3 separate regions of the Homo sapiens genome follow, and regions 2 and 3 are each linked to region 1. The links are contacts of gene promoters, found by promoter capture Hi-C in blood cells and fetal thymus (Javierre and others, 2016). All regions are on one chromosome and are shown on one strand. The core of a region is centred on a gene start or on the middle of the fragment in contact, and the rest is flanking DNA. Distances in the headings are between cores, read along the strand shown.

Evidence for each region. The method cuts DNA at HindIII sites, captures the fragments that hold promoters and counts their contacts. A CHiCAGO score of 5 or more calls a contact.
Region 2: a fragment that was not itself captured here is called in contact with the fragment with the promoter of RFX5 in region 1 in 2 of 17 cell types (M1 macrophages and M2 macrophages); the score reaches 5.9 in M1 macrophages.
Region 3: a fragment that was not itself captured here is called in contact with the fragment with the promoter of RFX5 in region 1 in 1 of 17 cell types (M1 macrophages); the score reaches 5.5 in M1 macrophages.

The regions. Positions count from the first base shown.
Region 1 is chr1:151,346,002-151,348,789 of GRCh38, reverse strand. It overlaps RFX5 (regulatory factor X5), which reads left to right and starts at 1,538. Exons shown (of 11, transcript NM_001025603.2): 1 at 1,538-1,579; 2 at 2,184-2,301; 3 at 2,457-2,585. The coding sequence starts at 2,470. It overlaps RFX5-AS1 (RFX5 antisense RNA 1), which reads right to left and starts at 1,780. Exons shown (of 2, transcript NR_131972.1): 1 at 1,602-1,780; 2 at 899-1,158. RefSeq lists enhancers at 1,124-1,473, 1,440-2,022, 1,077-2,276, 2,616-2,705. The HindIII fragment of the contact is 13,633 bases long and covers 1-2,788 here.
Region 2 is chr1:151,807,992-151,810,779 of GRCh38, reverse strand. All of the region lies in intron 10 of RORC (RAR related orphan receptor C), which reads left to right. Among named protein-coding and RNA genes, the nearest start is that of LINGO4, 4.0 kb to the right of the region's middle. RefSeq lists an enhancer at 1,434-1,934. The HindIII fragment of the contact is 1,121 bases long and covers 859-1,979 here.
Region 3 is chr1:151,780,561-151,783,348 of GRCh38, reverse strand. TDRKH (tudor and KH domain containing) reads left to right here. Exons shown (of 13, transcript NM_001083965.2): 2 at 300-450; 3 at 1,762-1,868. The coding sequence starts at 327. Among named protein-coding and RNA genes, the nearest start is that of TDRKH, 8.5 kb to the left of the region's middle. The HindIII fragment of the contact is 4,445 bases long and covers 1-2,788 here.

The DNA.
Region 1 (2,788 bases), core at 289-2,788:
ATTTTAGCTGTTATTAGAAAACCTGGCCAGGTGCAGTGGCTCACACCTGTAATCCCAGCACTTTGGGAGGCCAAGGCAGGTGGATCACCTGAAGTCAGGAGTTTGAGACCAGCCTGACCAACATGGTGAAACTCCGTCTCTACTAAAAACACAAAAATTATCTGGGCGTGGTGATGCACGTCTGTAAACCCAGTTACTCGGGAGGGTGAGGCAGGAGAATCGCTTGAACCCAGGAGGCGGAGGTTGCAGTGAGCCAAGATCGTGCCATTGCACTCCAGCCTGGGCAACAGAGCGAGACTCCGTCTCAAAGAAAAAAAAAAAAGAAAGAAAGAAAGAAAAAAGAAAACCTCTTGCCAATATATCCTTATTGCCCCAACTCCACAATCTCCTGGGTTCCCCCAGCACTCATAGAAGCTGATAATAGGGAAAGGTAGGCTGTAAAGGGCAATGGTGATGAGCTCAGGCAGCACTACTGTCTTCTTTACAAAAGCACATTAATGATGAGCCTGGAGAACATATTAGATGTCAGGATGGCAAATACAGTTTTGGTTGTAACATGACCGCTGCGCAAAACAAAATACATCCATGTAAGAGGCTTTCAACCTGGAGTCCATGACCTCTCTGAAATTAGATGCAAAACTTGGTCTCTGTGTGCATTTTTCATGGTAGAGGGTCCATTGCTTTTGTCTGATTCATAACCTTAAAATGTCTTAAGTAAGAGGGTTAAGAACCCATGACCTATTCAGTACAATGTTCCCTGAGTGTAAAAAGTTCCTGTGGCATCCAGCACCCCCGTGGGAGTCCATCAAAATTCCAGGGTTCACCGACTGCAGAACTATGGGGATGCAAATGCATTTGCAACTCTTTGGAAGTAAAGTACACACGGGAAACCAAGAAATACTAAGAGGGAAAAAGCATTTTAGTTTAATGGGTACAACTGCTGAGGTTTTGAGGCCTCCATCAAGAAGGAAAAGAGAGCCCAGATTGCAGGTCTGTTGCGAGTAAGTGTGTCTGCAGGTTGTATTAGGCATGTGGTGATGGTGATGGGGGGTTATAGGAGCTTACAGTGAACTTCCATCACTCCTACCCATCATTGTCTAGTTATTTTATCATCCATTGATTCTTCTCTTCCGGCAGCTCTGAGGACCGTAGACTAAACTGAAACACAAAAGGGGAGGGCAAAAGAAAAGACAGTTCCAAAGGGAGCCGAGCGCCCGTTCTTTCATCCTGCGGTCCCTTTAAGAGAAGAACCTCTTGGGACCTGCAGTCCCAACCGACCCCAGTTTTAACCGAAACCCAACCCGGACTTCCCCCTCTTGACTCAAATAAGACCAACTTTGGATTTTCCCTCCCCTATTGACCAATCAGATTCTGTTACCAGGCAGACTTCAGCGGCCGCCGGTACGAGCCCGGCGCCTTCTGTCTCCGGGTGGCAGCAGTGACCAATGACAGAGCAGGCCGCCCGTGTATCTAGGCAGATCGCGGCTGTTACAACCATTCAGAAAAAGGAAAATAAAGCAACGCACGAGCCGGCTGGGCCAGGACCTTGGGGCTGGGCTGGAGTGAAGGTGGCTACGAGGTAGTTTCTCTTTCTCCCTTACCTTTATTGTTGCTTGTGTTGGAAGGCGACTGTTCAGAGGTAGGGAGGGGCAAGATGAGTTGGGAGGAGAGCAGAAAAAGATTGTAGCTGTATTTTCAACAGCTTCTTCACCCATGTGCACGTGCCCGGAATCTGGGACCCCATTCCCCTGCCGGGTTTCTGACGCCCAGCGCATGAGTTCCGCTACCCCGCCCCACCCCCGCTCCACTTTGCAGAAACCGGGGATTGAATGGAGGGGGAAGGGAAGGAGGTGGGGGCGCGCCTCAGGATGGGCTGTTGTGGGAGATGACGTAGGGGCCGGCGACGTGGGGAGGGGGAGCAGCGGGGGAAGTCGTGGCGAGATTAAGTAATGAGAACTTGGGCCCAGTTTTTTTTCCAAGCCTAGAAGGGCAGAATATGTTCGTATCCTTTCTGACCTCCCAGGCATATGCAATGGTGAGGAGTATTTTTGAGAATTAGAGAACTTTGTTTTGTGGCTGTTATTGTTGTTTTTGAGGGGGAGGAGGGCAGTATGGGGTCAGAGGCAGAAATGAAAATTTCTTGCTAACATGGATTCCCAATCCCCCTATCTCTTCCTTTACAGTTTTCCAGATTTAGGAGACTTCAGAAAGGTGGGGCAGATAGAATGGAGATGGCAAAGATCTCTTTGGGCATATATGGGCCTGGCGAAGTAATGGAATAATTTCTAATTTTCGGAGAAGGCAAGTGGTGAGAAAAAGACCACCGGGGAAATTCGGAGGCTTTGTTTCTGTTTCTCTGCCTTTCTGGGTAAAGAGATGAGGAGTGCCCTGGGGCCTTCTGGGGAAGGGAAGGCCAGTGTGAGTTACATCTTTATGCCTGTCCCTCTCAATTCTAGCCCTCATGCCGGGATGGCAGAAGATGAGCCTGATGCTAAGAGCCCCAAGACTGGGGGAAGGGCCCCCCCAGGTGGTGCTGAGGCTGGGGAACCTACCACCCTTCTTCAGAGGCTCCGAGGTACCATTTCGTAAGTACTCATCACATCTCCAAGTCCTGTCCAAGACCTGAGTATAGATCCCTGCAGCACTTCACTTTGGCTGTAGATGAACTGCCTCTCAGCAAGGGCATGGGAGCAGAGGGAGATTTTTGGCCATGGTAGCAATTCTTGAGCACCTGCTGGGCATTTCAGTCCTTTTCCCTCCCTAGCAGTCAGATAAAGAGACAGGGAAA
Region 2 (2,788 bases), core at 170-2,669, 460 kb before region 1:
GGGTGGATCACCTGAGGTCAGGAGTTCGAGACCAGCCTGACTAACATGGTGAAACCCCATCTCTACTAAAAATAAAAAAAATTAGCCAGGCATGGTGGCAGGCGCCTGTAGACCCAGCTACTTGGGAGGCTGAGGCAGGATAATCGCTTGAAACCGGGAGGCAGATGTTGCAGTGAGCCAAGATTGTGCCATTGCACTCCAGCCTGGGCAACAAGAGCAAACTCTGTCTCAAAAAAAAAAAAAAAATCTCCTTGTAGCTATCAGGAGACTTCAGTGACTTAAATGCAAGATTGAATCCCAGTGCTCTTTGCGCTCTTTCTATCCCTGTGTCCCCTATGTATAACTATAATAAGTGACACCAGGAAAATGTTATGAGAGTATAAAACAGGGATTAAAAATAATTTGGGGGTAAAAGGAGTGGGTCATAAATACTTCCCAGGGAAGATGACATTTATACTAGGCCATGAATGATGTAAGATTTTAACAGGCATTCATGGGGGTGGGGCAGGCATTCCAGGCTTAGGGAACAATAGGAGCAAAACAAAAAAAATGAAAAAAAATCCTTTTCCTGAGGTTTAACCAAAAAAATGGATGAGATGAGTATGAGAGGCTGGGGATAATTGTTTTATGGGATTTGGGTGTGGGACTAGGGTACAATGAAGACCAAGAACAACAGGAGAAAAATAAGGAGGCAAAATAGTGTGTATGTGGAGAATCACTCATGGTACATCCTCACTAAAGTGTAAAATCAGGAGCTGGGATAGACTGGTGGGGCAGAAGAGCACCAGATGATCAGCCTGAAAATTAGGTCAGGGGCAAATCAGAGAGGACTTTCAATGCCATATAAGCGTTAAAGCTTTATTTCTAGGCCACAGGGAGCTCCAAAGGCTAGAAAAATGACACAATCAGAGCTGTCATTTAGGCAATTTACTTTGGAACCAGTATAAAGGAACCATTTATGTAATTATTCAAGCAGGCCTTTGCTATGTGCCAGGCACAGGGCTGGGTGTTAAGGATACAGCAATGACTTACACGGTCTGTGCTCTCAAGAACTTGAACTTTAATCTGCTACAGGATGGATTTGAAGGAGGAGAGACAGGAATCTGGGAGAGCAATTGGAAAGCACATCCGGTTGGATCTGCTTTCAAAATACATCACCTTCCCTACTATTACCACCACCCTGGCCCCTACCAGCTCTCAGCTTTCACTTGGACTTTAAGAGAGGCCTCCTAACTGAGCCCCTGTTCCACCCTCATCTGCCCTGTAGCAACCACACCTACTCCGCACCCACGGTAGCCCTTTTAAAAATGCAATCTCATCATGCCCTACTCCTGTGGTTTTTTTCTTGTTTTTGTTGTTGTTGTTTGTTTGTTCTGTTTGTTTGTTTTGAGGCAGACTTGCTCTGTCGCCCAGGCTGGAGTGCAGTGGTGTGATCTCGGCTCACTGCAACCTCCACCTCCCAGGTTCAAGCGATTGTCCTGCCTCAGCCTCCTGAGTAGCTTGGATTACAGGGATTACACGCCCGGCTAATTTTTGTATTTTTAGTAGAGACAGGGTTTCACCATGTTGGCCAGGCTGGTCTCGAACTCCTGACCTCAGGTGATCTGCCCACCTTGGCCTCCCAAAGTGTTGGGATTACAGGCGTGAACCACCACACCTGGCCTTGACTCCTGTTCTCAGCCCTCCTGTAGCTGCCTGTGATGCCGAGAATCAAATCTAGAGTCTGCGTCATGGTCAAGTGGCTCATAACATGATCCCTGCCTTCTTTTCTCACTTGATCTTCCACTGCCCCTTCAAACACCCATTGCAGCCACACTTGCTTCCTTGCTATTCCTCGAACACATCAAACCCAGTCGCAGGGCTTTTGTACCTGCTATTGTAGTCACCTGGAGGGTTCTTCCCCCAGTTTTCCAAATGGCTTACCCCATCTCTTCATTCGGGAGAGGTTTTTCCTGACCAGTAACCCCATACAAAAAGCTTTAGTTTTCTTTAAAGAACTTATTATCTGATACACTACATATTTATTTTCTGGGCCCCTCACCAGAATGTAAATTTAATCAAGGTACAGATTATACTTTATTGACTGATATATCTGATATATCACTAGAGGCCATCACAGTGCCTAGCTCAGATCCAGATGTGTTCTCAACAAATATTTGTTGAATGAATGAAGGAAGCTATTGCCATAGCCCAAAAAAGCTCAGAATAAAGCAGTGGTGAGGAAGAGAGAGAATCTAGGAGATATGAAGGGATCACACCCTGCTGCCTGCTTTTCTCTGACTGCCTCTTTCCAAGGAAACTAAGCTGGGGGAGGGAGGCAATGGCAGGCAAGAGACATTTTTAAGCCTCTTGGTTGTAGAGGAGACTGCAAGAGATAAATTGTTCTTTCAGCCTTGCTCCAGTGAGGTCTCCCTGCCTCCGTCTGCTCACTGGTTTCTGTGCCTTTTTCATCTCCCCTTTGGCTGAGTGCTGGCAGCATTGGTTTGCTACTTGCAGTGTTAGGTGCCTGCTTAGAAAGTCTGTTTAGTTCAAAGAGTTATTAAGCATGTGCCATGTGCTAAGCATTATGATAGGTACAGAGGAGACAGGGAAAGAGAGACCTCAGCCAAGGAGCTGAAATCTAGGGTGGGAAGGCAGACAAATTGGACCATTTTCCTGCAATGTAGTAAGTGCTACACAGAGGAAAGCCCAAAAGAAGGGCCCTTAATCCAGATGGGAGGCAGTTAGGGAAATAGTCTTAGGAGAGGTGACACTAGAGGGTAAGGATTAGTAATGGGAAGAGGGGAAC
Region 3 (2,788 bases), core at 201-2,700, 430 kb before region 1:
GAAATCTAAGTATATATATTTCAAATATTTGATTCATTTAATTTTTTTTGTCTTTTAAAACTGACTTGGGTGGGGAAAGTGAAGTATGCTTCTATTTAATTCTATGTGTACCTTAGCTAACTTTTAAAAAATACCCTGAGCCCTTTTTATATGAAATAAATTTTGAAATTGCTGAAGCTCTTGAAATTGGAAGGTAGGCAGTAGTAGTCTTTTCAGTAATAATGTGCTCCCATGCCTCTCTGCTATTCATAAAAGGATTGGATGAAACCTCCCTCTTTTCCCTGCTTTGCTTGTTTCAGGATATAAGTCAAAGAGTACAGCAGAAAATGTCTACTGAACGGACTTCTTGGACAAGCCTGTCCACCATTCAGAAAATAGCCCTGGGCCTTGGGATCCCAGCCAGTGCAACAGTTGCCTATATCCTATACCGCAGGTATAGGGAAAGCAGAGGTACGTGAACCCTATGACTGTGTGTGTGAAAATGTTCAGACATGCTCCTGCCTTGTTAAATTGAAAAAAACTCTTTCCTTGCCAGGTATTGTGTGTGTTTTGTTTTGGGGTTTTTTGTGGGGTTTTTTTGAGACAGGGTCTCACTCTGTCACCTAGCCTGGCGTACAGTGGCACAATCTTGGCTCACTGTAGTGTCGACCTCCTGGGCTCAAGCAATCCTCCCACCTCAGCCTCCAAGTAGCTGGGACCACAGGCCTGTATTTTTTGTAGAGATGGGGTTTTCCCATGTTGCCCAGGCTGGTCTTGAACTCCTGAGCTCAAGCAACCCACCTGCCTCGGCCTCCCAAAGTGCTAGGATTACAGGCATGTGCCTCCATGCCTGACCCAGGTATTTTAATTGACTTTCTGTGAGGAATCTTTGACTAAAATTATTTAGTCTTTTTTTTTTCTTTGAGACAGAGTCTCACTCTGTCGCCCACACTGGAGTGCAGTGGAGCAATCTCGGCTCACTGCAACCTCTGCCTCCCGAGTTCAAGCAGTTCTCCTGCCTCAGCCACCCTAGTAGCTGGGATTACAGGCGTGTGCCACCACTCCTGGCTAATGTTTGTATTTTTAGTAGAGACGGGGTTTCACCACCAGGGTGGCTGACCTCAAGTGATCCACCTGCCTCGGCCTCCCAAAGTGCTGAGATTACAGGCATGAGCCACTGCACCTGGCCTAGTCTTTGCTATGTTCTTACATAGCAAAGTAAGCTAGTCTATGAAATGAACTCATTTTATAACTCCATTGATGTGCTTTCTTCAGCAACATCAACACAGCAAAGAGTTCTTTTTTAATTTCTATACTCATCTTTTTTATATATTCCTTTTCTCTAATTAGTTGTTAGTAGAAGGCACTTACCTCAAAGGCTGGATCTAGAGAATAGGACCTAGAGAAATGACTTATGTACCTATCAGTCAGGAGAAGTTCTGAGCCTAATGGACCCCTCAGGTAACTTTTGGCCTTCATTCTTCTCCAGTAGTCATGTCTTGGGAGAAGTAGTTTGCCCAAACCCCAGCACCTGTTTATTGCAGAATCTGCTTTTCCCATTTTAGCATCTGAAACAGTGTCCCAGAGAAAATGCCCATCTCTGATCCTTTGGGACCTTCTAATTCCCATTCAGATGCCACTTTTCCTTGTTGTTATGGTTGAGATCCTCACTTTATCTCTTGGATCAGTGTCTCTTTGACAGCCAGATTCTGGGGAGGACTGGTAGTTATACTAGCTTTGGGTGTTATCTAAGTCTGATCTGATGAACAATGATCTGTGCAGAAGAGCGGCTGACATTTGTTGGGGAAGATGACATTGAGATAGAGATGCGGGTTCCCCAGGAGGCTGTGAAACTCATCATTGGCCGGCAAGGAGCCAATATTAAACAGGTAAGTGTGTGAGTAGGCAGTCTGCTTTCCCAAGGATTGATTCTGTTTATTGATTTCTTGTTTCCTTCCACTGACCCCATATCACAAAACATTCACATGCTCTGTGTGTGTGTGTATGTGTGTGTGTATATATAAAATATATATATATATATTTTTTTTTTTTGAGATGGAGTTTCGCTCTTGTTGTCCAGGCTGGAGTGCAATGGCACGATCTCGGCTCACTGCAACATCCGCCTCCTGGGTTCAAGTGATTCTCCTGCCTCAGCCTCCCGAGTAGCTGGGATTACAGGCACCCGCCACCACGCCCAGCGAATTTTTGGTATTTTTAGTGGAGACGAGGTTTCGTCATGTTGGCCAGGCTGATCTCGAACTCCTGACCTCAGGTGATCCGCCTGCCTCGGCCTCCCAGAGTGCTGGGATTACAGGTGTGAGCCACTGGGCCCAACCACTATGTATATTTTTAAAAGAACAAATAGAGGAACTTTTTAGCTAACTAAACTTTTTAGCTACTTCCCTTCTAGAGAAGAGTACTTCTCCCTAGAGAAAGGATGACTTAGCTTGAAATACGGGTTTTTGACTGGGTGATTGTCAGCATGGTATAACTTGAATTATCCTTTTTTTTTTTTTTTTTGAGACAGAGTCTGGCTCTGTCACCCAGGCTGGAATGCAGTGGCATGATCTTGGCTCACTGCAAGCTCCGCCTCCCATGTTCACATCATTCTCCTGCCTCAGCCTCCCAAGTAGCTGGGACTACAGGTGCCCGCCACCACTCCCAGCTAATTTTTTGTATTTTTTGTAGAGACAGGGTTTCACCATGTTAGCCAGGATGGTCTCGATCTCCTGACCTCGTGATCCAGCCGCCTTGGCTTCCCAAAGTGCTGGGATTAGAGGCGTGAGCCACCGCGCCTGGTCAAATTATC